Linked DNA regions of Homo sapiens: all the other regions are linked to region 2. Evidence: promoter capture Hi-C in 16 types of primary human blood cells and fetal thymus (Javierre and others, 2016). All regions are on one chromosome and are shown on one strand. Each heading gives the region's core, a stretch centred on a gene start or on the middle of the fragment in contact. The rest is flanking DNA. Distances are from core to core; before and after follow the strand shown. Region 1 has its middle 21 kb from the start of COL9A2. Region 2 holds the start of CAP1 (cyclase associated actin cytoskeleton regulatory protein 1). Region 3 overlaps SMAP2 (small ArfGAP2). Region 4 holds the start of SMAP2 (small ArfGAP2). Region 5 overlaps SMAP2 (small ArfGAP2).

Region 1 (4,552 bases), core at 1,411-3,910, 300 kb after region 2:
CTGCACCACTACGCCTGGATAATTTTTGTATTTTTAGTAGAGATGGGGTTTCACCATGTTGGCCAGGCTGGTCTTGAACTCCTGATCTCAGGTGATCCACCCGCCTCGGCCTCCCAAAGTGTTGGGATTAGAAGCGTGAGCCACTGCGCCCGGCCGAGAACTACCACTTATTATTAATGGTGATCATTAATTTTTTTTTTTTGAGACGGTGTCTTGCTTTTGTTGCCCAGGCTGGAGTGCAATGGCACGATCTCGGCTCACTGCAACCTCTGCCTCCCGGGTTCAAGCGATTCTCCTGCCTCAGCCTCCCGAGTATCTGGGACTACAGCTGTGTGCCACCAAGCCCAGCTAATTTTTTGTATTTTTAGTAGTGATGGAGTTTCATCCTGTTAGCCAGGATGATCTGGATCCTCTGACCTCGTGATCTGCCTGCCTCGGCCTCCCAAAGTGCTGGGATTACAAGTGTGAACCTCACCCAGCCTATCTTCAGAACTTCTATCAGATTATTTTGAAGGTGTGTGAACATATTTTTATTTGTTTGTTAAACCTTGAAGGTGGATTGGATTTGAGAAATAGCTACTAGTTGTTCAAGACCAAGTTGGGTGAAAGATAATGGGTCAGAAATTATAATCTGGTAGTCCTCAATTTTCTTTGATTTGCTTATAATGTTTTTTGAGATGGAGTCTCACTCTGTTGCCCAGGCTGGAGTGCAGTGGTGTGATCTCGGCTCACTGCAACCTCTGCCTCCTGGGTTCAAGCAATTCTCCTGCCACAGCCTCCAGAGTAGCTGGAATTACAGGCACCCGCCACCATGCCTGGCTAATTTTTTTGTATTTTTCATAGAGACAGGGTTTCACCATGTTGGCCAGGCTGGTCTCGAACTCCTGAACTCAGGTGATCCTCCCGCCTCAGCCTCCCAAAGTTTTGGGATTACAGGCGTGAGCCACCACGCCCAGCAGTGACTGTTAATTTTGTGTACTGATTTTACGTGTCATCTTGACTGGACTAAGGGATATTAGCTGGTAGAACATTATTTCTGGGTGTGCCTTTGAGGGTGTTTCTGGAAGAGTTAACGTTTGAATCAGTAGACTGAGAGCAAAGAAGATCCACCTTCATCTATGTGAGTGGGCAGCATCCAGTCCATTGAGGGCTTGAATAAAAAGGCAGAGGAAGGGTGAATTCTCTCTGTCCTTGAGCTGGGACATCTATTTTCTCCTCCCCTTGGACATCGGAGCTCCTGGTTCTTGAACCGGTTTCCCTCCCCAACCCCACTCTCAGGCCTTCCACTGGGGACTAAATTACGCTACCGGCTTTCCTGGTTCTCAGCTTGCAGACAGTTTATCATTGGACTTCTTGGCCTTTGTAATCGCATGAGCCAACGCCCGTAATAAATTTCCTCTTACGTTATCTATATATATCCTATTGGTTCTGTTTCTCTGGAGAATCCTGACAAATACAACAATAATGCTTATCATTTAAATATTTATATTATCATAATTATTGTGTTTATAACAATATTTATTAAGCACTTGCTATATGACAGATATTGTATCAGTGTGGTACATGCATTTTGTCTTTAACTCCTCACAACCGCTCAACGAGGTAGGTCCCTTGATTATCCTCATTTTATTTATTTATTTATTTTTAATAGAGAAGAGGTCTCACTATGTTGTCCAGGCTGGTCTTGAACTCCTGGGCTCAAGCGATCCTCCCACCTTGGCCTCCCAAAGTGCTGGGATTACAGGCGTGAGCCACTGTGCTGGGCCTATCCTCATTTTATTTACAAGAAGACTGAAGCTTAGAGGTGTGAAGTGATTTCCCCAAGGACACACACCTGTTTTCCCACAGTTTCTAGCTCTGGATAGGTCTCAGTAACATACATTTTCCCCACTTTCCACTACAGCCACAGCATAGGGTTGTGCATTTTAGGATCTGCACAAAAAGGGAGGACAGAGGAGTGGGGCTGAGACCCAGCCTGGAGATGTTTGCCGCAATATTTTATTTTGCTGGTTCTAGCTTTCTTAGAGAACTCTTAGGATCTTCTGTTTGACTTGAGCCCTGGGCTGCTCCAGTTTACACTCCTCAGATCTCTAAATTTATTTATTTATTTATTTATTTTTTGAGACCAGCTCTGACTGTTGCCCAGGCTGGGGTGCAGTGGCGCCATCTCGACTCAGTGCAACCTCTGCCTCGTGGGTTCAAACCTCAGCTCCTGCCTCAGCCTCCTGAGCAGCTGGGATTATAGATGTGCACCACCACGCCCGGCTAATTTTTGTATTTTTAGTAGAGACGGGGTTTCACCCTGTTGGCCAGGCTGATCTCGAACTCCAGGCCTCATGTGATCCACCTGCCTCTGCCTCCCAAAGTGTTGGGATTACCGGCGTGAGCCACGACGCCCGGCCAAATCTCTAATTTCTAACCTTCCAATCTTCCAGTCGTTTCTTCCCACCTCCGATAGGAAGGAGAGGTGGGCTGCAGGGCAGGAAGAAAAGGCCCAGCTCCCTTCCCCACCAGTTGCTCCTTTAGACCGACTCCAGGTGAGCAGTAAATCAGGCTGGCTGGTGCTCTGGCGGCACCTAGTGGTCCTCTGCGGCAGCACACCATGATGACAGCTTGACAAGACGAATTAAAAGCCCCTTTCTCCAGGAGCTGCTAGCGAGATGAAACGGGCATAGAGGCAGATAAAGCACTGTGGGAACCCAGCGAGGGAGCAGTCGTGGTTTCTGGGGAGTTAGAACTTAGAATTTGGATTCAGCTAGACTTGGATCCTGGTTCTACCACATACTGACTGTGACCTTGGGCAAGTCATTTCATCTCTTTAAGCCTCAGTTTCCTCATTTGTGAGATGGGGAGAATAGTGTCTCTTGATGACCATGAAGTACTTAGCACAGTGCCCAGAACGCTTTGGATATTTGTTTTCGGCAGAAGGGAACTTCGTTTTGTTTGTTTGAGATGTAGTTTCGCTCTTTCGCCCAGGCTGGAGTGCAGTGTCGCAATGTCTGCTCACTGCAACCTCTGCCTTCCGGTTTCAAGCGATTCTTCTGCCTCAGCCTCCCAAGTAGCTGGGAATACAGGCGCCCGCCACCACACCCGGTTAATTGGCAGAAGGAACTTTGTAAGAAAGGCAGGGAGTGGGATGAATGTTCAGAAAACAGAGTAGGTGACAGATGATCCCCCTTCCCTGCTAGAGAAGAGCAAACACAGCTGGTCAGTCCCGTGGAGCAAGTTGGGGCAGGGGCTGAGTCTCTTAATTACAGCACAGTGAGACGACCTAGAACCCCTTCCTGGAAACAGCTGCCCATTCTGGGCTGAGCCAGAGTGCTAAACAGGTTTGCTCACCTGGCCTCTGGCTGCCCTCTTATGCCTGGCAGAAAATACCAACCATCAGCTTCCCACAGGTGCTTCTCTCTCCAGCTAGAACAGAGCAACTCCAAACTCCTCAGAATTGCCAATCCTGACCCTGGTTTCATCTGACCTCCCACTTGTTCCATCTGATTCCTTCCCAGTGCTGGTCCAACACTGATAAGCTTTAGTGTCCGCTTACATGAACTACACTCTCCTGGCTTTCCTCCTACCTCTCCAGCTGTTCTTTCTCAGGCCCCTTGCAGATTTCTTTTCTCTGCACACCCTTACTTAGCACTCTACAAGGTCCTGTCCTATCTTCTTATTCTTTATACTCTTCCTGGGCCATCTTATCCATCGGGTTGACTTTAACTGCTGCCTATATGTTTTCCTGAGTCTCAGACCTGCTTATCCAACTGCTTCTCAGATGTTCCACAGGCACCACCAAACTGACATGTCCCAAATGAAATTATCTTCTTGCCCACAAACCTGTTCCTCTTCCTGTGTGGCCTACACAGCCAGTGGTCCCACCCTCTGCCCTATTGCATAAGCCAAAACTATGGATGTCATCCTGGAGAAGAGACTTCCCTCTCTCCTCCCCGAGAAATATTATCGCCTTGTCCCAGTGACTATACCTCATAGGTGTTTAATCCATCCACCTCTCTCCATCCCCACTGCACCTACCTTATTCAGCATACCATCCTCTTTTGCTTGGGGGTATTGCAACTGCCTCTTATTTTAACTCCTTGCTTCCAGTTTTGCTCCATTGTTTTTCCTCTGTGTTCCTTTCTGGAGGCTCAAGGAGATAACTCATTGCCCAGCCTTTCCCACCTTCTAGAGGCTTCCCACATTTCTTGGTTTCCCCTTCCTCCATCTTCAAAACCAACAAAGTTACATCTTACTGACCATACTATAGTAAAATCTCCCTGTGCTTCTCTCTTCTGTCTTCCCCTTCCACTTTTTTTTTTTTTTTTGATGGAGTTTCACTCTTGTTGCCCAGGCTGAAGTACAATGGTGTGATCTCGCCTCACTGCAACCTCCGCCTCCCAGGTTCAAGTGATTCCCCTGCCTCAGCCTCCTGAGTAGCTGGGATTACAGGTGCTTGCCACCACGTCTGGATAATTTTGTATTTTTAGTAGAGACGGGGTTTCACCGTGTTGGCCAAGCTGGTCTTGAACTCCTGACCTCAAGTGATCTGCCTGCGTCAGCC
Region 2 (4,600 bases), core at 338-2,837:
CTTTTAAACATGCTGGGAGCCATAAAGTTAGGAAGAGGCCCAGTAACCCGTCCAAAGTAACCTGACCAAAGTCTGACCCCTAGTAGAGGGCCTATGCCAGCACTGGAACCCAGTGTCTCCAGATCCAGAGGCATTCACCACCTCAAATCTGCCTCAAATGTCTGCAGTATGGTCTATCACAGGGGCTAATTAAGCTCATGGGATTTAGAGTCAGACAGATGTGTTTCCTTCAAAGTTTCAACAGTTACTTTCTGACCTTGGCAAGTTATTCAGCTTCCTCATTTGAAAACTAGAGGGCATAATGGTACCTACCACCGAGAGTTGCTATTAGGAGTAAATGAAAATACGCTTGAAGAACTCAGCATGGGCCTGGCAAGTAGTCAGCGTGCAGTAAATGGTAGCTGTTATTTTAAGAACTTTATTTGTTGAATGATTGACTCTGGCACATAACGCCTGCATTCAACTTGAAACACGGAGCTGTCACAGTCGTTCAGCTGAAGGGGCGGGAACTGTGGCACTTGCCAATTTTTTCTAGAAATAAATCTTTGTGGGAGGATAATGACCGGTTGGAGAGTGTGAGTCTTGAGGGAACAAAGATCGGATCTCCCGGCCCAAGGAGTACGGAAGCGAAGCCTCCCCTGCGCGCGGCAGCCACCGTGCGTAACCTCCCCTGAACCGAGTAGCAGCCGCCTGAGCCCACCCAGCCCTGGGCGAGGCTGCCTCAGAAGCCGGATTTCAGCAGAGTGGGTGCAGGATCTGCTTTAATTCTGCTCATCTTATTCTCGGGGACCACACCCTGCGCGCCGGGAGGAAGGGCTCCAAAACCACAGGGCGGAGGCTTCCGCGCGGCCCCAGACTTGACCATCTATGGTCACAGAACACACCGACCAAACAGGAAGTGGGGTGAGAGCGGAGGGTTCCCTACCTTCCCAGCCCCGCGACTGCCAGCCGGGCTGGGGCTGACCCACCGCGCCCTCACTGACCCCCACGCCCTGCGCCCAGTCTCCGCAAGTCCTCCCACAACAATGTCCAGACTAATTGCCTTCCCACGTCACAAACGGGGAAACCGAGGTATGCACGCCCAGAGACAGGCGGAGCGTGGCCTCGATCACCACCGAGAGCTGACGGCCGCCCGGATTCCCGCCCTCAGAGAATCCTGGCCCCCAGTCGTTCCAAGACCCTTTACGGACTGCAGCTTAAAGGAACCGGCCTCTGCCATTGAGACCAAACTGACAGAGGAACTGGTCACTCTTCTGTTCTTTCCAGAGAGGAGCTTAGCCAGGGACTTCTGCCCTTCCTGGGCCCGGGCCTCGGGGGCGATTCCGGGTAGGTAAAGCGGAACGAGGGCGTGGCCTCTCTTGTGAGCCCGCCCTCCCCGTGTCGCTCCCGCCTTGAGGGCGGGGCTCTTTCCCAAGTGCCCTCTGTGAGAGCCGGGCCGCTCTCTCCGGGGCGTGGCGAAGAGGGGCGGAGTCACGAGCGGGGCGGTGAGACTTCCTGCCCAGTCGCGGGCCAGCCTAGCGCTTCAGCCGGCGGCTCATTTCCGGTGGGGGCGCCGCGCCCAGTGAGGGCCCGGAAGTGGGTCGCGCGGAGATTGCTGGGCGGTTCTTGCCGGAAGCGGAGAGCGGCTGATCGCAGTCCGGAGGTGAGGCGGAACTCTGAGGTGAGGGTGTGCAGCTTGGTAGGGATTGGGGTCCCTTCCGGGGCCCATCGGCCCCTGGTGGTGTTAATGGCCCTTCTGGCCTACGCGCGTGTCATGAACCCTGCCGAGAGGGCCGGGGCTGAGGCCCTCAGGCCGACCCGGACTCTTGGGCGCGGTCTCTTGAGGTGGGGCCGGGGTGAGCAGCTGAGTCCGGGTGCCCCGGGGAGGCCCCTCTGCCCGATTTCGCAGCGCTGCCCATCAGCTTCAGCGGAGGCCTGATTCCTGAGGTGCTCTGACTGGAAGGAACCTCCGAGATCGGAGAGTCTTCCCTGTCTCCTGTTGATGCTCCCATTGCACTGATAGGTAAATTGATCCCTAGAGAAGAGGCTAGTCTGAGATATATAGCGAGTGAGGAAAAGAATCGGAATCATGATCCTGGTGCCTTAGATAACCAGCCCCAGTTCTTCCCGTGTTGCTCGGAACCTCTCTAACTTGGGATGGTCTTCCGGTCGGTGTTGCCCCGCAGGCTGCTGCAGGTTAAAGGCCAGCGCTGCGTGGAACTTTTTTTTTTCTCTCCTCCCAAATTGAGCCGTTTGAAATGCCTAGGGAGTTTTTAAAAGAAAGGCGGGCACATCCTTGTATTTACAGGCAGATATCCTCCCTTTCCTCCTCGGCTGCTGCTCTTACTTTGACAAGCCAGGCTAACATTGAAGGTATGTACTTCTGGACCTGAAATCAGACGGCTCAGGTTTGGTCTGGCCTCAGTGCTGAGTGTCTGTGGCCATAGGTGCCTTAAACTTCTTTCAGCCTCCTTTTGTTCATCTTTTAAGTGGAGATCTCTGCTGACCCCACAAGATTAAATTCAGCGTAACAAATTGTGTTTATTCTGTGCCAGCATTTTCCCAGATGCGGGGAATGCAGCTTTAAAACAAAACAATGTAGACCCTGCCCGCGTGGAGCTAGCAGTGTTTGCAGGGATGTTTAAGAAGTAATTATAAATGTTGATGAGTGTTAGGAAAGAACAGGGTGCTCTGAAAGTATGTAACAGGGGGTTCAGGAAAAGCCCTTCTGAAGAAGCAGAGTTTTTAAGATGAATTTTGAAGGATAAATAGGAATGCGTTCGAAGAGTGGAATGAGAACATTTGAGACAGGTTAGCATCAGAACTGTGTCAGTTGAAGCTCTTTGTGGGGCTCTCTCTTCAAGAGAAAATCCGGGGGCATATCAGCACATTTATCATTTACCAGACTTTTATTTAATTTATTTATTTGTATTTTTAGTAGAGATGGGGTTTCGCCGTGAAGGCCAGGCTGCTCTCGAACTCCTAACCTCAGGTGATCCCCCCACCTCGGCCTCCCAAAGTGCTGGGATTACGGGCATGATCCACCGTGCCCGGCCCCACCAGACGTTTATTAAGACCTTAATATGTATGAGGCACATTTTAATGAGATAGCCTTTGTGGCAAAGAATACAGTTCTTCTGGAGTTTACAGTGGGAGAGGAAATAGACAAGTAAATGAGGGATGGCTTACAGTGTCATAGTGCATAGCACAGGGCTACAAGAGCACAGTGGAGAAATACCTGAGCCAGGTGCCCAGGGTTCCAGGAGGAAATGGGAGGCTAACTCTTGAAATATTTATTTAGCTACATAGGGAATCCGGAAAAGGGATTTCCAGGCAGAGACTACTACAGGTGCAAGGACCTGGAGAACCGGACAGCTGAAAGACCATGACGAGTTCAGTGTGACTGGAATTCTAGTAATGGCTGGGGAAGTGGAGGAAGTGAGATGTGGTCAGGTCAGTCATATGTGGAGGACATTGTAAGTCATGCTAAGGAATTTGGATTTTTACCCTGAAAGCTATGGAGATGCTTTGAAGGGTTTTATGCAGGAAAATGATGTCGTCAGATTTATATTTCAGAAAGTTCATTCTGTCAAGTAGGAGGGGACCAGCCCTGTGGGGAAGTAAAACAGTGTTTGGAAGCTCTTGCTGTAGACATGGCCTGAACTAAGACAGTGGAAATGGGAATGGAGAGGAGGCATCAGATGTGAGCAATATTAAGAAGATAGAATCCATAGAATTGGAGGCTGATTATGGGAATGAAGAGGTAAGAATAGCGCGATTGCCTGGCTTTCTGGCTTAGGGAACTGAATGGGTAGTACCATTCAGATAGAGAGTATGAGAGGTAAATTAGGGAAGTGACATGGGAAAAAATGCATTTTGAATGTTTTTAGTTTGAGGTGTTTGTAGCACATCCAGGCAAAGATGTCTAATAAGGTGGGTCAGCTAAAGGAAAGAGCAAGAGTAAAGATACGGAGGCAGGAGAGGGCCTAAATTGTTCAGTGATACTGGGGCCTGGAGTTTTGCAGAAGACCAGACTGCAAAAAAGGTTAGATGTCGGCCAAGTTGTGAAGGGCTTTTTGTTTGTTTGTTTGTTTTGAGACGGAGTCTTGCTCTGTTGCCCAGGCTGGTGTGCAGTGGCACAATCTCGGGTCACTGAAACCTCCACCTCCCAGGTTCAAGGAATTCTCCTGCCTCAGCCTCCTGAGAAACTGGGATTACAGGCGTGCGCCACCACGCCCGGCTAATTTTTGTATTTTTAGTAGAGACGGGATTTTACCATGCTGGCCAGGCTGGTTTCGAACTCCTGACCTCGTGATCCGCCTGCCTCGCCCTCCCAAAGTGTTGTGATTACAGGTGTGAGCCTCCGCACCCGGCGTGAAGGGCTTTTAATGCCTTGTTGAATTTGTTTGGATTTGATTTTGTGGGTGGCAGTTTGCTAATTGATTTGCCCAGGTCCAGCATAAAGAAATTTCTGGGCTGGGCACAGTGACTCACGCCTGTAATCCTGACACTTTGGGAGGCTGAGGTGGGCAAATCACTTGAGATCAGGAGTTCAAGACCATCCTAGCCAACATGGTGAAACACCATCACTACTAAAAATACAAAAATTAGCTGGGCGTGG
Region 3 (4,935 bases), core at 439-2,938, 350 kb after region 2:
TAGGTTACACTGTTTTTCCCTTCTGGGCTTCTTTTTGAGGAAGGGGAGTGTGGATGGGAAGAAATCTTCACAATCAGTCTCAGATTCCCAGCAGCAGAGAGTGAATTGTATGTTGTAATAATAAAAAAAAGAATACCTAAAGAACAAGATATCAATTTAGTGACCATTATTGAGCATTTACTATGTATAACACACATTTGGGTGTGTAAAGGTGATTCTAATTTCAGTCCAGCTGATCCTTTCTTCTGTGAACTTGGGCAAATGACTTGACCTCTCTAGGCCTTAGTTTCTCCAACTGTGCTTAGACTAGATCATTCCTAAGGTTTGTTACAATTTTAGAATTTTGTACTCTAAACGTGTATCTGTTTGTTACAGAACAAGAGAGGCTTTTCCACAAAATTGACATATTCTTATGTCTCACTTCAAACTAAATGGCTTAAAAATGGTTCCTCTAGAGCAGGATTTCTCAACCTCAGACTATTGACATTTTGGGTGATTCCTTGTTGTGGGCACTGTCCAGGGCATTTTAGAATGTTTAGGAGCCAGCATTCCTGTCCTCTGCCCACTAGATGCCAGTAGCTCTTCCCTACCCCTCTGCCCGTTGTGACAACCAAAAATGTCTCTAGACATCAGCATTGCCCCTTGAGGGGAAATCGTTTCTGTTGGGAGCCATTGGTCTAGAGGAACAAAGATGGGACTATTTGAATATGGGCTGTTTTTAATATCAGTTTTCATGTTATTCCACTATTGCTTATTACCTGTTTAATCAGTAAGCATGCATTAAGTGTATACTATACACAGATGAATGCCGACGCTTGATTATGAGGGACTTTAATGACCATGTCAAGTTTTCAAATGTTGAGTCCACCTGGCCAACTTTGAAATGATTGCCCAGCTGTTAGCGCAGCAGTCCCTACACGCCTACACCCACCAGCCTGCTATTAGCCTTGGTCAGGGTAATGATTGAAATGTATGAAAGCATTCACTCACAAAGGCTATCAGATAGCAACCTAGGAAGGCCCTGGGATTGTGAGTTATGGATCGGGACTGGGTCTTGTGCATCCAGAATCTAGTATTATGATAGTTATCCCTTCAGCTTCCTAGGGGAAAAAAATTCCTCGTCAAAGTGGTGGGGTGAGGAATCTATCCTAGGGATGGAGGATGAAGAGCAATCTCATTGGACAATGACCATATCACCCTTTTTAGTAGCTTCTTCTAAACATAGGCCCTTTCCCTCCCGCAGTGGGCAGGCTCACTTTGCAGCTTTAGTTTTTTGTTTTGTTTTGTTTTGTTTTTGTTTTTAAATATATGAGTAGATACTGGTTGTTGCAAAGAGGAAGTTAAACTGAAGTAACCTAAAAATGTAAAGAACTGAATGTCCCCAGGAGATGAAGACAGTAACTTGAGAACCAAGTTTGCTTATATTACCTGAAGTGAGGTCACTAGGAAATTGGTTTAATTATAGTATCAAGTTTTGAAATATCAGGTCCACCTGGCTGACTTTGAAATGATTTGCCCAGCTATTAGCTCAGCAGTCCCTCCCTGCACACCAACTCCACCCAGCCTATTGTTAGCCATTGAAGTGGTGATTGAAATGCATTAGATTGCCCAAGAAATCTAATCTTTGGACTTGCTACATTTGCTATAAAATATCAGTTTAGGTTTAATAACTTTGAATTTGCTCCCAGTACCCCCAGATTTTCTCATCTGTTTTAAATTCACATTCTGCACTTGGTCGGGTGCAGAATGGTGCTTCTCGCTGATTGGGGTAGAGTGTGTTCTGTGAGCATCTTTGCTGGGATGCTCTGGGATTCCAAAGCCATGATTCAGACACTTAAGCCTGTGTCAGTCCCTATCCTTAGGTCCTGGCAGGCTCCGTGTTCCATTCCAGCTGAGCCTTTGCTGGAGTAATTACCCACATGGAGTCTTCAAGCCAAACAATTGTTTGTACTGAGATAGTCTCACTGTTTGGCTCCTAATGAAATAATCTCTTTCCTGCCCTCAATGAAAGCAGCTATTTTTTGTGTCCTCCCTCCCCTATTCAGAGAAGCCATGTCTCATCCACCACTCTTCCAGCTTATTCATAAATGCTTTAAGCAGGGTCTTTGTGTAAAGGAAATTGGCTGGAGCTGAAATATCATAGGCTAACCAGGAGACAAGGAGCATTAAGGACACCCTTTTCCTTGACTTTCTATTTAGGGTATTTAAATTACCTTTCTGTGATTTTCTGTAATAAGCAATCTAAAACTTAAATCCACATAAGCAAAATAGTCATACTAGGTTTTTAAAAAGTATACTAAATTAGGCCGGGCTCAGTGGCTCATGCCTGTAATCGCAGCACGTTGGGAGGCCGAGGCAGGTGCATCACTAGGTCAGGAGATCGAGACCATCCTGACTAACATGGTGAAACCCCGCTGTCTCTACTAAAGACACAAAAAATTAGCCAGGCGTGGTGGCATGCACCTGTAGTCCCAGGTATTCGGGAAGCTGAGGCAGGGGAATAGCTTGAACCCGGGAGGCGGAGGTTGCAGTGAGCCAAGATCACACCACTGCACTCCAGCCTGGGTGACAGAGCGTGAATCCATCTCAAAAAAAAAAAAAGTATACTAAATTAGTATAATTTTATTGTTGTTGTTACCTAAAGGAGCTCTCAAAAATAAAAGCTGGCCAGGCGTGGTAGCACATGCCTGTAGTCCCAGCTACTCAAGAAGCTGAGGTGGGAGGATTGCTTGAGCATAGGAGATTGAGGCTGCACTGCACTCTAGCTTGGGCAACAAAGCAACAAACCCTATCTTAGAAGAACAAACAAAAAACCCAACAACAGAACAACCACAAATGAGTGAGTGCAGCAGGAGAGGCAGCAGAGCGCCGTGGGAGTTGGAATAGGAAGGAGAAAAGGCTTCATGGGGAAAGTGGGCAGAGCAAGATTTGCACAAAAAGATGTTTTGCAAATAGAGGAAATAGGCCCTGTAAAGCTATTTGTGAGAGACTGTAAGTTGATCAACAAAGTGTAAGTAGTTCTTCTAACTTTTTTTTTTTTTTTTTTTTTTGTGACAGAGTCTTGCTCTGTCGCCCAGGCTGGAGTACAGTGGCTCAATCTTGGCTCACTGCAACCTCCACCTCCCAGGTTCAAGCGATTCCCCTGCCTCAGCCTCCTGAATAGTTAGTATTACAGGCGTGAGCCACAATGCCTGGCTAATTTTTGTATTTTTAGTAGAGATGGGGTTTCAGCATGTTGGCCAGGCTGGTCTTGAACCCCTGACCTCAGGTGATCCACCGGCCTTAGCATCCCAAAGTGCTGGGATTAAGGCGTGAGGCACCGCGCCCGGCCACTTCTAACCTTTTTAAGGAGTATTTGCGTGAACAGAATCAATGAGTTTCTTCAAATTAACTTCTGACAATAATCTAAATGGTCTCCATTTTCTGATTCACCCTTTTTTCCAATTCCAAGTTGCCATTATCCATGTAATTGGCTCTAAAGAGAGCAAGGAAATCTATCTTCTCCAGGAGTTTCAGTCATAGATTTTTAGCTGGCTCTCTTTATCATTTGCAACTGAGTTCATTCATATGCTTGTTTTCAAGAATTTTTTCCTTTAGTTCCAGAACTCTTTGCTTCCATCCTATGGTTTCTTGGGAGGACAGTTCTAAGCTTTCTTAAGATAAGTGTTTCAATCACACCATCTACCATTTCCCTCAGAAGTTGTTCTCCTCTTATGCGGTGTGTTTAGGTGTTTGGGGCGCCAATCACTAGGGATTGGAAGGATTTTGATGAATCTTCAAGTAACCATGTCTTGAAGGTTAGCCATCATCAGTTCACTCCATGAAATGAAAACTTACGGGGATCCACTTTTGCTCTTTTTTGAAGAAGTCTATTGTCCTCAAAGGAAGAGGTGGACCTGTTCAGATTTTTAAGTTTTATCTTATTCAGTGTTTGTAGCATCAAGGGACTGGCCTCTAACGGAAGCAACTGGGGGCTTCATTGGCTTATGCAATCAGTCTCATCTCACTGACTTTACAAGGTTCTTCAATACTGGCAGAAAATCTCTTGGCTAGCTCTTTCTCCCTCCTTAAAATATGTTGGCTCTTTACTATAAAAACAATCATAGCAGCACATACCAGAATCTCCTAGGGAAACCCCCAAAGACTTGGGCCTTGTCTCAGCTCTCAGACACTACCACCAAGAGCACTGCATAGCTTTCCCAGGACCAACTGGAAAGAATTCTTTTTTACGACGATGTAATTGACAATGAAAATTGTATATGTTTACAGTATACAATGTGGTGTTTTGATATATGTGTACATTGATTTTTGTGGCAGTCAGGAGGTCCTCTAGTTGGAACAGAGACTCACCACACCCAAGAGTCCCTCTGTCTGTATCCCATCCCCAAATCAGAAAAAGGCCTGTGCGTCTCTGTGGGTAGTATTCACTCTCTCAGATTCCTCTGTGAGTCAGGAACATGACAAGTGGCATCTATATACACAGTTTTAAGAGGAAGTGATGTCACTCTTGGTGTATAGAAGTGAGAAGAGGAGTAATGAGAATTAAAGACCCAGATCACAGGAGAATTTAAGCCATACTTAGAAGTTTGGAGTTCAGTTGATGGTGGGGGGTCCAGTGACATAGCTTTGAATGGGGTGATGACATTATCAGGACATATGTTGGCAGAATGTCCTTTTCAAAGCCAACAAAGTCCAAACTAGGATCTCATTCTTTCCCTCCTGAAGTCACCTGGGGAATTGAATTGATAATAATGATACAGGATGACTGATTGATAGTTCTTTATTCCCAGAAACATCACCTAAGTATACACTAGTTACCTTCCACTGCTGGGAGAGACAACAAGGAAGAGTCACAGTAAGTCCCTACCTGTTAATAATAAACCAATGGCCAGGCCCAGTGGCTCATGCCTGTAATCCCAGTACTTTGGGAGGCCA
Region 4 (4,761 bases), core at 128-2,627, 330 kb after region 2:
CTCAGGTTACATAAGGATGATCATAGGGTCGTTGTGAGGATTATGTTGGGATAGTTCATGCAAAGCGCTTAACACAGTGCCTAGCGCATAGTAAGAGCTCAGTAAATGTTAGTTGTTGTCTTCCTTCACTTTCTTCCATTCCCTCCACTCCCTTTCTACCAGGCTCCATTCATTCTCTTCCAAGGACACGCAGGGGGCGTGCCCACCCCTTCCCTCCGCCCCCACCCAAGGCCCGCCCCCCGCTTCTCCACGGATTGGTTCCCGAGAGGCGGAGCTGAAGGAAGAGCCCAGTGCGGCGCGGTGGGGGCGGGGCGCATGCGCGAGCTGGGCAGGGTGGAGGTGGGGAGGAAGAGCTGCCGGAAGTAGGCGGTGGAGGTGGTAGCGGAGCTGACGGCAGCTGCCAGGGAAACCGAGGCGCGGGACGCAAGGCCAGCAGACAGGCCGGCCAGAGGGTCATCTGCGTCCGGCACCCAGGAGGCTCGTGGTCCGCCTTTGCCTGGGCTGAGGGTCTCTGGCCCCGCAGCCTCTCTTGGAGGCGGGCCTGTCCCTAAGCCCGCCAAGGGGCGCCGCGCCGAGGGGCTGCGGAGTGGGGGACGGACGCCCCCGACCCGGGAAGGGGCGTCCGGCGGGGCCGGAGGAGAGGGCTCTCCCCGCTCAGGAGGTGCCCCTGGGCGGGGGACCGGGAGTCCTCAACCCCGGACTGAGGCAGGGGTCTCTGGGGGCGAGGAGGGCGCGTCGCCCTCTGCCCCCGCCGGCACCCTGGCCATGACAGGCAAGTCGGTGAAGGACGTGGATCGGTACCAGGCTGTCCTGGCCAACCTGCTGCTGGAGGAGGATAACAAGTTTTGTGCAGATTGCCAGTCTAAAGGTAGCGCATCCCACCTGGCGGGCCAGGGGTCCAGCCGCGCCGGGGTGGTGGGGGTGGGCTGCGTGAAGAGGCGGTTTCTGAAGCTTAGGCCGCCCAACTCGGCTTATAAGTGGTAACGCGTGCTGCGCTTGCAGTGAGCCTACTGGGCTTTCTGCAGCTGGGGGATTGGTATGGGTAGAGCTTGCGAGGGCGAGTCTGTGTGTGTCGGGGAGGGTGGAGGTGATGGTGCGGGTGGAAGTTGCCTGGCGTGTTCAGGTGAGAATGTCTGTATTTGAGGGCTCTGAATGAGTTCTGGGCCGGCTGTCCAGAGAGAGCTCCCAGCATGTCACTTGCAAAGCTGGGGATGAACTGCATTGCGTGCGTGCGTGCGTGCGTGTGTGTGTGTGTGTGTGTGTGTGTGTGAGAGAGAGAGAGAGAGAATGACGAGGAGGAGGAGGAGGGAAGTGAGATGGCGGAAAGGAAAACTGCTTAAATGATTTTTAAAGGTGGTGATTTTTGCTTCCTGCTATTTGGTTAGCAACTCCTGTCATTTTGCAGCCTTGCTAAGATCTGACAAGAGTGCTTAGGTGACTTTATTCTTCTGGATGTGTGCAGTGGGAAACTGCCTTATGCAGTGACACAGTGCGGATTTCTAGGCAGTGTAGCCCTGGCTTGTAGAGTGCGTTGGAGGCCTATGTATGAGTGGTGGCAGAAACTAGCCGATTATGCCTGTAGTGCAGGATCCGTTTAATCAGTGGAGAGAGAAAGATGAATTCGATGAATTCATTGCTTCCATGGCGATTACACTTCTAAAGGTGAAATATGATCATTGTAAATTGGCAGAACCATTTAGTCTTTGTTTTCTGTGCCCTAGAAGATTCATGATTTGATACAATTAAAAGTCAGTACAATAGGAAATCTTGGTTATTAGTGAAATGTTGGCACTTGACATTTATACAAGCTTCTATGAATCTTTTTTTCCTGTATTTTCTAATTCTTTTGGCATATAATTGGAGGATTGGGAAAATTATTTTCCCTTTGGTTGGGTCGAAATGGATAGTTATATTTTGGGGGCGACAATTTACTTTTGTTCATAATGCAGTGGATTTGCCATGGTTGTTTGCCGTACAGCGTAGTGGGCATATACTATAAAACAAAGATTCAGTTATATTCGTATTTATCTATTTTGAGAAAGGAAGGACATATTTAATTGATGCTTTCACTTAATTACCTTTTATTTTTGAAGAATAAGGTTATAAAAGGAGAACAGGGGAGGGATACATAGACACCTAGTAATGTATTTTAGTGACCTCTACCAACAGATAAATGGAATGTGCCATTAGGAAAACAAATTCCTAGACTTCTTTCCTGAATTTTTGCATTAGCAATAATTCATTTTAAAAAGTATTTTAGAATCAATTTATGTTGAGTAGGTTAGCTTCTTGATTCTTGTTACATCTTCTGTTAGGTCTATTGGAAGATTTGGTTTATTTTAGGAGTGTATCTTGGCTTTATTCAAATTCCCTTATGTCCTCATTTGACAGATCTTGAGTCACAGTGAAGCAACCCACTGGAGTGAGCATTGCTGCATTTGGAGAGTCAGATGCCATTTTGGTGACTAGAACCCCCCCCCCCATTTCTCATATTACCCTTATACTTACTCATATTCCAATAAAATACAGCACATGGAAGAGAGAGGCTGATTCACTACTTCTTCCTCCAAATTTCCATTGCTTTTTATTTATTTTATTTTTTATTTTTATTTTTTGAGACAGTTTCGCTTTGTCGCCCAGGCTGGAGTGCAATGGTGCAATCTCGGCTCACTGCAACCTCTGCCTCCCGGGTTCAAGTGATTCTCCTGCCTCAGCCTCCCGAGTACCTGGGATTACAGGCGCCCGCCACCATGCCCAGCTGATTTTTGTATTTTTAGTAGAGACAGGGTTTCACCATGTTGGCCAGGCTGGTCTTGAACTCCTGACCTCAGGTGATCCACCCGCCTCAGCCTTCCAAAGTGCTGGGATTACAGGTGTGAGCCACCATGCCCAGCCCGAAATTTCCGTTGCTTTTTATTAATAAGCTTACTGGGGATCAGGTTATGAAATATCAGTTAATTCTTAATGAGAACTAGTAACTGCTGGCTTGTAAACTTTATTAACTACTGTTGATGGTAGAATCCTGGATCCTCAATTTCTTTTCAGAAGTTCGTTTTACATTTTACCAGGTGGCTTCAGGGACTTGGTCATTGTATTAAAAATGAGATGACAATGGGTCAGTCATCTTTAGATTATGACAAATAGGCATTTGTTGAGGCCTCTGTTTATCCAATTTATGAATTACCTATCCCATTCCACCCCTCCAAGCCCTCTCACTCTTTTTCCCCTGCTGTTTTCTAATTTTGGTTGTCATAATGATCATTTGGACAACTATCAGATTGTTGAAGGAAAAGACGTTTGGATCAATAAATTGTTACCTGTTAGCGCTGATAAAAAATACATTTCATTGGAGGAGGAATTTAAAAAGTGTTGGCTAAAATGAGAATTGGGTTTCAGTTTATTTACCTGTATTCCTGTGTCCTTTCCTAAAAAATTGGAAGTTAACTGTACAGGATATGGTGAGTGATTGCTCATCTATTAATATCCAGTTAGATGATGTGGCATAGACTATCGACCTATGAGCAGGTATTTTTGCAATGTTCCAAAATATAACTCTTTGGCAATGACTTTTATTTTTAAATTCTTATACTTATTTAGGAACATTTATTAGTTGACTTTCAAGGTATGTGATTTAAACTTCGGAATAGAGGCTGGGTGTGGTGGCTCAAACCTGTAATCCCAGCACTTTGAGAGGCCAAGGAGGGAGGATCACTTGAGTCCAGGAGTTCAAGACCAGCCTGGGCAACATAGTGTGACCTTGTCTCTACAAATAGTTAAAAAATTAGCTGGGTGTGGTGTTGTGCATCTGTGGTCCCAGCTACTCAGGAGGCTGAGGCAGGAGGATCACCTGGGCAACTGAGCCCAGGAGGTCGAAGCTGCAGTGGGCCATGATTGAGTGCCACTGCGCTGCAGCCTGGGTCAGAGAGCAAGACCCTGTCTCTAAAACAAAACACAACAAATAAACATCAGAATAGAGAACAAGCTTGTGTTCTTTTTACTTCGTACAAGTTTTGTTGATCCTGGGGTTTTTAACTGTCCTGGGCACGAGTCTTACCAGTTTCTGGGACCACTAAACCATTCCAGTAATTTCAGTGTGGGAAAGGAAACTGCTTTGGGGCTGCCTATTTAAGAAATGCTATGATTCTCTCTAGGCTCAAGATGTGATTTCTTCATTACCCAAAGCCCTGGGGTTAATGTGACTTTTAGGGTGAACTTTTGGACTAACTTAGGTAGTGATAGAACAGAGGACAAAACTACTGAAAATTCCAGATATGTCAATGGTAACTCTGGCTGATTGAGGCTGGGTTCCATTTTTGGGTATGGGTCATACTTCCTTTGTACTTGGGGTCATACTGGTCCAAGTTTTAACTTCTAGCTCAGCAGTTCCAGATTTTATCAGTGTGTCAGGAATAATTGCTAAGCCACCCCGTCAGAGACTGTGTTTTAAACTGGACACTATCTTATTTACCATGAAAGGATCTACAGTTGTCCTTTGGTATCCAGGGGGGATTGGTTCCAGGAACCTTCTGGGGTACTAAAATCCACAGATGCTCAAGTCCCTGATATAAATGTTGTAGTGCTTGCATATAACTTATACACATCCTCCCTTATACTTTAAATCATCTCTAGATTACTTATAATATCTAATACAATGTTAATGCTATGCCAGTAGTTGTTACTCTGTATAATTTAGGGAATAATGAGAAGGAAAAAAGTCTGCACATGTTCTGTACAGATGCAACCATTCATTTTTTACTGAAT
Region 5 (4,869 bases), core at 572-3,071, 380 kb after region 2:
CTAAAACAAAGGTGGTGACAAGCGTTGCAGAATATACATTATATTCTGACAAACAAATACAACTGAAAATGAAGGAGGAGGGAGAAAAGTTGAATAATAAATATTGTATGGGAAAGAAGTAGAAATCGAAGGATGCAATAAGCTGACAAACCAAATCACGGAAGCTTGAATAAGGAAAAAGGAGACCAAGGACATTGCTAAAAAGTATTACTATGAAGGTAATCACTAGAACAAACACGTGAAATGTTCTGAATACCAAGATAATTTTCTTCCTTTCTTTTTTTTTTTTTTTTTTGAGACAAAGTCTCACTCTGTCACCCAGGCTGGAATGCAGTGGCACAATCTCGGCTCACTGCAACCTCCGCCTCCTGGGTTCAAGTGATTCTTCTGCGTCAGCCTCCCGAGTAGCTGGGATTACAGGCACCCGCCACCACACCCGGTTAATTTTTTTTGTATTTTTTAGTAGAGACGGGGTTTCACCATGTTGGCCAGGCTAGTCTCAAACTCCTGACCTCAGGTGATCCACCCACCTTGGCCTCCCAAAGTGCTGGGATTACAGGCATGAGCCACTGCGCCCAGCTGAGAATTTTTAAAAACAGACTACAAAGTGCAGCAAATACAATAAACACAGTAAAAATCTAATATGATGGAGTTGAGACCAAACATACCAGTCATACCAGTAGGCAACTCTTCTATCAAAAGAAAATGATGTTCAAATTGGCTAACAAAGCAACACTAGTTTTGCACTAGGTACAAAGAAATACAAAGTGATTTAATGTGAAAACCAAGAGACAGGCAAAGGAACCCCAGAGAGGTGGTATGGTGCATGTGTACTGCACATGTGCATGTATAGCTATCTTTATCAGGGTTATACTTATTTATAAGAAGTACTTTTATGTTTTTGTTTCTCTGTGGTCCAGAATAATTTATGTAGCTCTGGTCTTTGAAGGTTTTGTGGAATTCCCATGTGAAGTTTGTGGGCACTATTGCTTTTTTTGTAGCAAATCTTTGATACTTTTCTCTGTTTCTTCTATGGAAGTCAATTTTGGAAAACTGTATTTACCTAGATTTTCCATTTCGCCAAGGTTTTCAAATTTATCAAAAGTTATGCCTAGCAGTCTCATTAATTTTTTTCAAAGAACCAGGATTTCGATTTATTGGTGCTACATTTTTCCGTTTTCTACCTCAATTTCCGTAGGCTTTCTATGGGTTTACTTTGTTATTTTCTAGCTTTCATAGTGGAGATTTTAATTCACTTATTTTCATTGTTTCGTTTTTATTTATATAAGTAATGGAATGCTATAAGTCTGATGGGAATATGTCAGAGGGACGCATGAGCCAACTTCCAGTGGCTCTGACTGGCCAAATGTGAGACAATTTGAACATCAAAAAGAGTAACAACAGTAATGGATTATGACACACTGAATGGAAAAAACAAAACAAAACCATGAGTCCACGGTGATATTTTTTAAAAACCAGGTGTGGAATGGAGGGAGGAAAAGCCTTCTTTACAGAAGAATGACAGTAGTTGTAAAAAGAGCAAAGGATTGACACATTTGCAAAGAAATGCCCTTCAGATTATTTATTAATTATAATGAAAGAAATATAGTCACTACCTCAGCCAAGTGATCAAACATAAAATTACTGACAGAGGAACAAAGTAATGTCATATGCTTCCTGATATTTTGTACTAAGAAAGACATGTGTCACCTCCATAGAATCTTGCCAAAAATATTGAACCTCGATCCAATTATGAGAAAACATGAGATGAATCCAAATTGAGGGGTATGCTACAAAATAACTGTCCTGGGTTCTTAAAAATGTCAGTGTCAGGAAGAAATGGAAGGAAGTGTTAGGGAAACTGGTCTAGCTTAAAGGAGACTACAGAGATCTGAAAATGAAATGCCATGTACATTAGAATATGGTGTTAATGTTAAAATTCTTGAGCGTGTTCATTGTTTTGTGGTTCTGTTAAAGTGTTCATTCTTATGAGGTGCCTCCTGACTTAGGAATGAAATGTCGTGATAGCTGCAGCTTTTTTTTTTTTTTAATCTGCAACTTTTGATACTCATCAAAAAAATGTAAGTTTTTTTATAGGGAGGGAGAGAAAATATGGCAAATGTTAACAGTTGGTGAATTTAAGGAAGAAGATACATGGGTTTTATTGTACTATTGTTTCAACTTTTATGTCAGTTTGAAATTTACTTTAAAAGTTGGTACAAGAAAATAATAGTTTCTCCTAAAGAAAAATAACTTATATAGAAAATTTACTAGGCTTAGGAAATTCAAGGCATTTTTCTCCATAAAGTATTTTTCTGTTCACTGCTAGGGGCCAGTCTTTCCATCAGATTCATGAAGGACCCCCGCCCCATCCTGCCCCAGGCCTTATTCCACTGACTGTTTTCTCCCAGCTCCTTCCCTTCTTATACACTGAAGACACATTAGTCTTCCCCCGCCCCCGCCCCGCCACCGCCTTTGTTCATTCTGAACAGTCCAGTTCCTTTTTTTCCCCCTTGTGCAAACGAGCAAGCCTGCTCAAGCGCTTTCCCTGACACTGACAGTAATAGCTGTGCTGAAGATGAGGCGGGAGCACTGGGGAGGGGGCTTTCCTTTCAGCTTTTAGGATTGGCCAGGCAAGTTAACAATAGGCCCCTTCTATTTAGGATGAGGGACTGGAAAGGAAAAAGAGAGGAACTCATGCTGATTTTCTGTCGACTAGATCCAGATGCCAGGATGCCTTCTTTCCCTCCCTGAGCTTTAGTCTCCGTCAGCATTGCACTCCCAAAAGGTCATTCACGTACGTGGCCTTGAAATGATCTGACTGCTAAGGTCCAGGGTTTACTGTCCATAACAGAGTTTCCCTTTGTCTCATTCTCCCCATCCTGGCAGAGAAAGGGACTCTCACCCTGCCTTTTGCACTAATTGGCGGAATGCCCACAGCCTGGTCTGAAAGTCTCCTCTCTCCCTTTCAGATGACCCAGCAGATGGCTGGGATGAACTTCTATGGAGCCAATGGCATGATGAACTATGGACAGTCAATGAGTGGCGGAAATGGACAGGCAGCAAATCAGACTCTCAGTCCTCAGATGTGGAAATAAAAACAAAACACCTGTATGGCTGCCATTCTCTTCAGCCCTCGCTCTCCCCTTTCCACAGCCTCCACCCCTGACCCCCATCCTCTTTTCCTACCTCTCTGTTTGGTTTAGAAATTGCTCAATAAGTCATTTGGGGTTTGGCATCCTGCCCAGCCACTTCCCAAACATGAAGACCTCTCTGTTGCTTTATGTTGTACATGCCCCATAGCCATCCCAACGTCCTCCCCAGTCCTCTCCTGGCACCAGCACCTTAGAAGTTGTTGGCAGAAGGCACTTAAACTGTGGGAGAAGTGTGCACACCTTTGAGTCCCTTCCCTCAAGGTTAAAGCTCCTGTCAGACTCTCAGAAGGGTCTGTGGGTGTTGTATATTAGGCAAACAGGGGAAAGCTTAGAGGTCCTTCTATATGTGTTAATAAGCTGTTTCTAAGTGTTTAAATTTGAAAAGCATCATGTTCTCATGATTTATGGGAATGAAGCAAGTACTGAAATCAAATTAAATACTCCCTGGGTCCTGGGTCAGTTTGACCCTAGCCCTGGGGTGAGGCAAGCCCCCTCCTATGAGGATGAGCAAAAATACTACTCTCTTCGCCCTGAGTTGCTTTCTGGATCTGGGGCTTCAGGACTTGCTGCTTCAGTCAGCCTTTATTAGCACCAAAGACTTTATGAAGATCCCACACACAGACACACATCCCTTCCCGCCTCCCCCCTGCCTTCAGTAGGATCTGGCTCCGTGGCTGGAGGACCAACCCCTATAGTGGGAATGCAGAGCTTAACGTGTACTGCTTGTGTGTGTGCGTGAGTGTGTGTGTGTGTATGAGTGTGTGTTCCGCCTCCCACCCTCTCCCCATCTGCTCTGGGTATTTTTGTTTTTGTTTAGTTTTAGGTTTACAACAGAGAGGAATTAATTTATCAGCAGCCTAAAACTGTTGTGTTTTTCTTATGGTTTAAAAAACGCCATGTCATTGATAACTCCCTTTCTCCCTTCCCTTCTCCCGGTCTGCTGATCACTCTTTCATGCCTGTGTATCCAGGGTGCTCTGTTTCCCCACCGTTCCCAGGTGTACGAGGCAGAGGGCCGGGACAGCTTTCCTCTCAGTCATTGTTCACCCCACTTGAAAATTCAGACAAGAAAACTTTGCTTAAAAGATTTCATGTGTGGGAACCACAGTTCCTGGCTGCCTTTCTCCTGTGTATGTGTAAATTCCTTAATAAATATTGCAGGGAAGGACTGTTTGCTTGGCCATTACTGTGCGTCACTCTTGGAGGAGGGTGCGTTACACTTAGGTTTTCTGTTTTCCAAAGGCAATTGTTTCACTTCCTGTATTTTAGAAAATTCTGTACTTCTCATACCCAAGGGTGAGGCCCAGGCTCCAGCAGTCAGAAAGGGGGCCTCTCTCCACTGGCATCTAGAGCTGTGAGCTGAGAGAACTCCAGAGATCAGCACCTTCTAGAGTCACAGAGCATCAGAGCGGCATGCTTTCCCCCCACAGGTGGAGAAACTGAGACACGGAGAAAGGACATGGTTGGCAAATGTCCACTAGAGAACCCTGGGCAGAACCGGCAGTAGCCTCCAAGTGTCTGGATTTCCAGCCCCTTGTTCTTTCCCTATACCATGGCAATTAAGTAGTGAGTTGAAATTCCTCTCTGCCAAGAGAGCAGTAGCTTTGGCTGGTAAAGGTAACTCACCCCTCTCTGAGCTATCAGAACTGGACCTTCCGTATCAGTGTCAGGAATTAGGACACTCAATCCTGGGGGCAGTACGAAATACAAAAGGC

The links. Contacts are between HindIII fragments. The CHiCAGO score rates a contact against its expected background, and 5 or more counts as called.
Region 1: a fragment that was not itself captured here is called in contact with the fragment with the promoter of CAP1 in region 2 in 1 of 17 cell types (neutrophils); the score reaches 5.5 in neutrophils.
Region 3: a fragment that was not itself captured here is called in contact with the fragment with the promoter of CAP1 in region 2 in 1 of 17 cell types (M0 macrophages); the score reaches 5.1 in M0 macrophages.
Region 4: a contact is called between a fragment that was not itself captured here and the fragment with the promoter of CAP1 in region 2, in 2 of 17 cell types (non-activated CD4 T cells and neutrophils). The highest score is 5.2, in non-activated CD4 T cells.
Region 5: a fragment that was not itself captured here is called in contact with the fragment with the promoter of CAP1 in region 2 in 2 of 17 cell types (neutrophils and monocytes); the score reaches 8.0 in neutrophils.

What each region holds. Positions count from the first base shown.
Region 1 is chr1:40,336,312-40,340,863 of GRCh38, forward strand. No RefSeq gene overlaps it. Among named protein-coding and RNA genes, the nearest start is that of COL9A2, 21 kb to the left of the region's middle. The HindIII fragment of the contact is 1,730 bases long and covers 1,796-3,525 here.
Region 2 is chr1:40,039,142-40,043,741 of GRCh38, forward strand. CAP1 (cyclase associated actin cytoskeleton regulatory protein 1) reads left to right here and starts at 1,588. Exons shown (of 13, transcript NM_006367.4): 1 at 1,588-1,660. It overlaps LOC105378669 (a long non-coding RNA gene), which reads right to left and starts at 1,305. Exons shown (of 3, transcript XR_001738013.3): 1 at 1-1,305. RefSeq lists enhancers at 606-1,239, 1,208-1,277, 1,240-1,874, 1,528-1,727, 1,798-1,887. The HindIII fragment of the contact is 17,502 bases long and covers 1-4,600 here.
Region 3 is chr1:40,390,514-40,395,448 of GRCh38, forward strand. The region is part of intron 1 of SMAP2 (small ArfGAP2); the gene reads left to right. Among named protein-coding and RNA genes, the nearest start is that of SMAP2, 19 kb to the left of the region's middle. The HindIII fragment of the contact is 3,918 bases long and covers 1-3,647 here.
Region 4 is chr1:40,373,356-40,378,116 of GRCh38, forward strand. It overlaps SMAP2 (small ArfGAP2), which reads left to right and starts at 372. Exons shown (of 10, transcript NM_022733.3): 1 at 372-868. The coding sequence starts at 766. RefSeq lists silencers at 115-434, 505-644 and an enhancer at 630-1,129. The HindIII fragment of the contact is 857 bases long and covers 950-1,806 here.
Region 5 is chr1:40,419,004-40,423,872 of GRCh38, forward strand. SMAP2 (small ArfGAP2) reads left to right here. Exons shown (of 10, transcript NM_022733.3): 10 at 2,973-4,319. The coding sequence ends at 3,098. Among named protein-coding and RNA genes, the nearest start is that of ZFP69B-DT, 29 kb to the right of the region's middle. The HindIII fragment of the contact is 3,318 bases long and covers 163-3,480 here.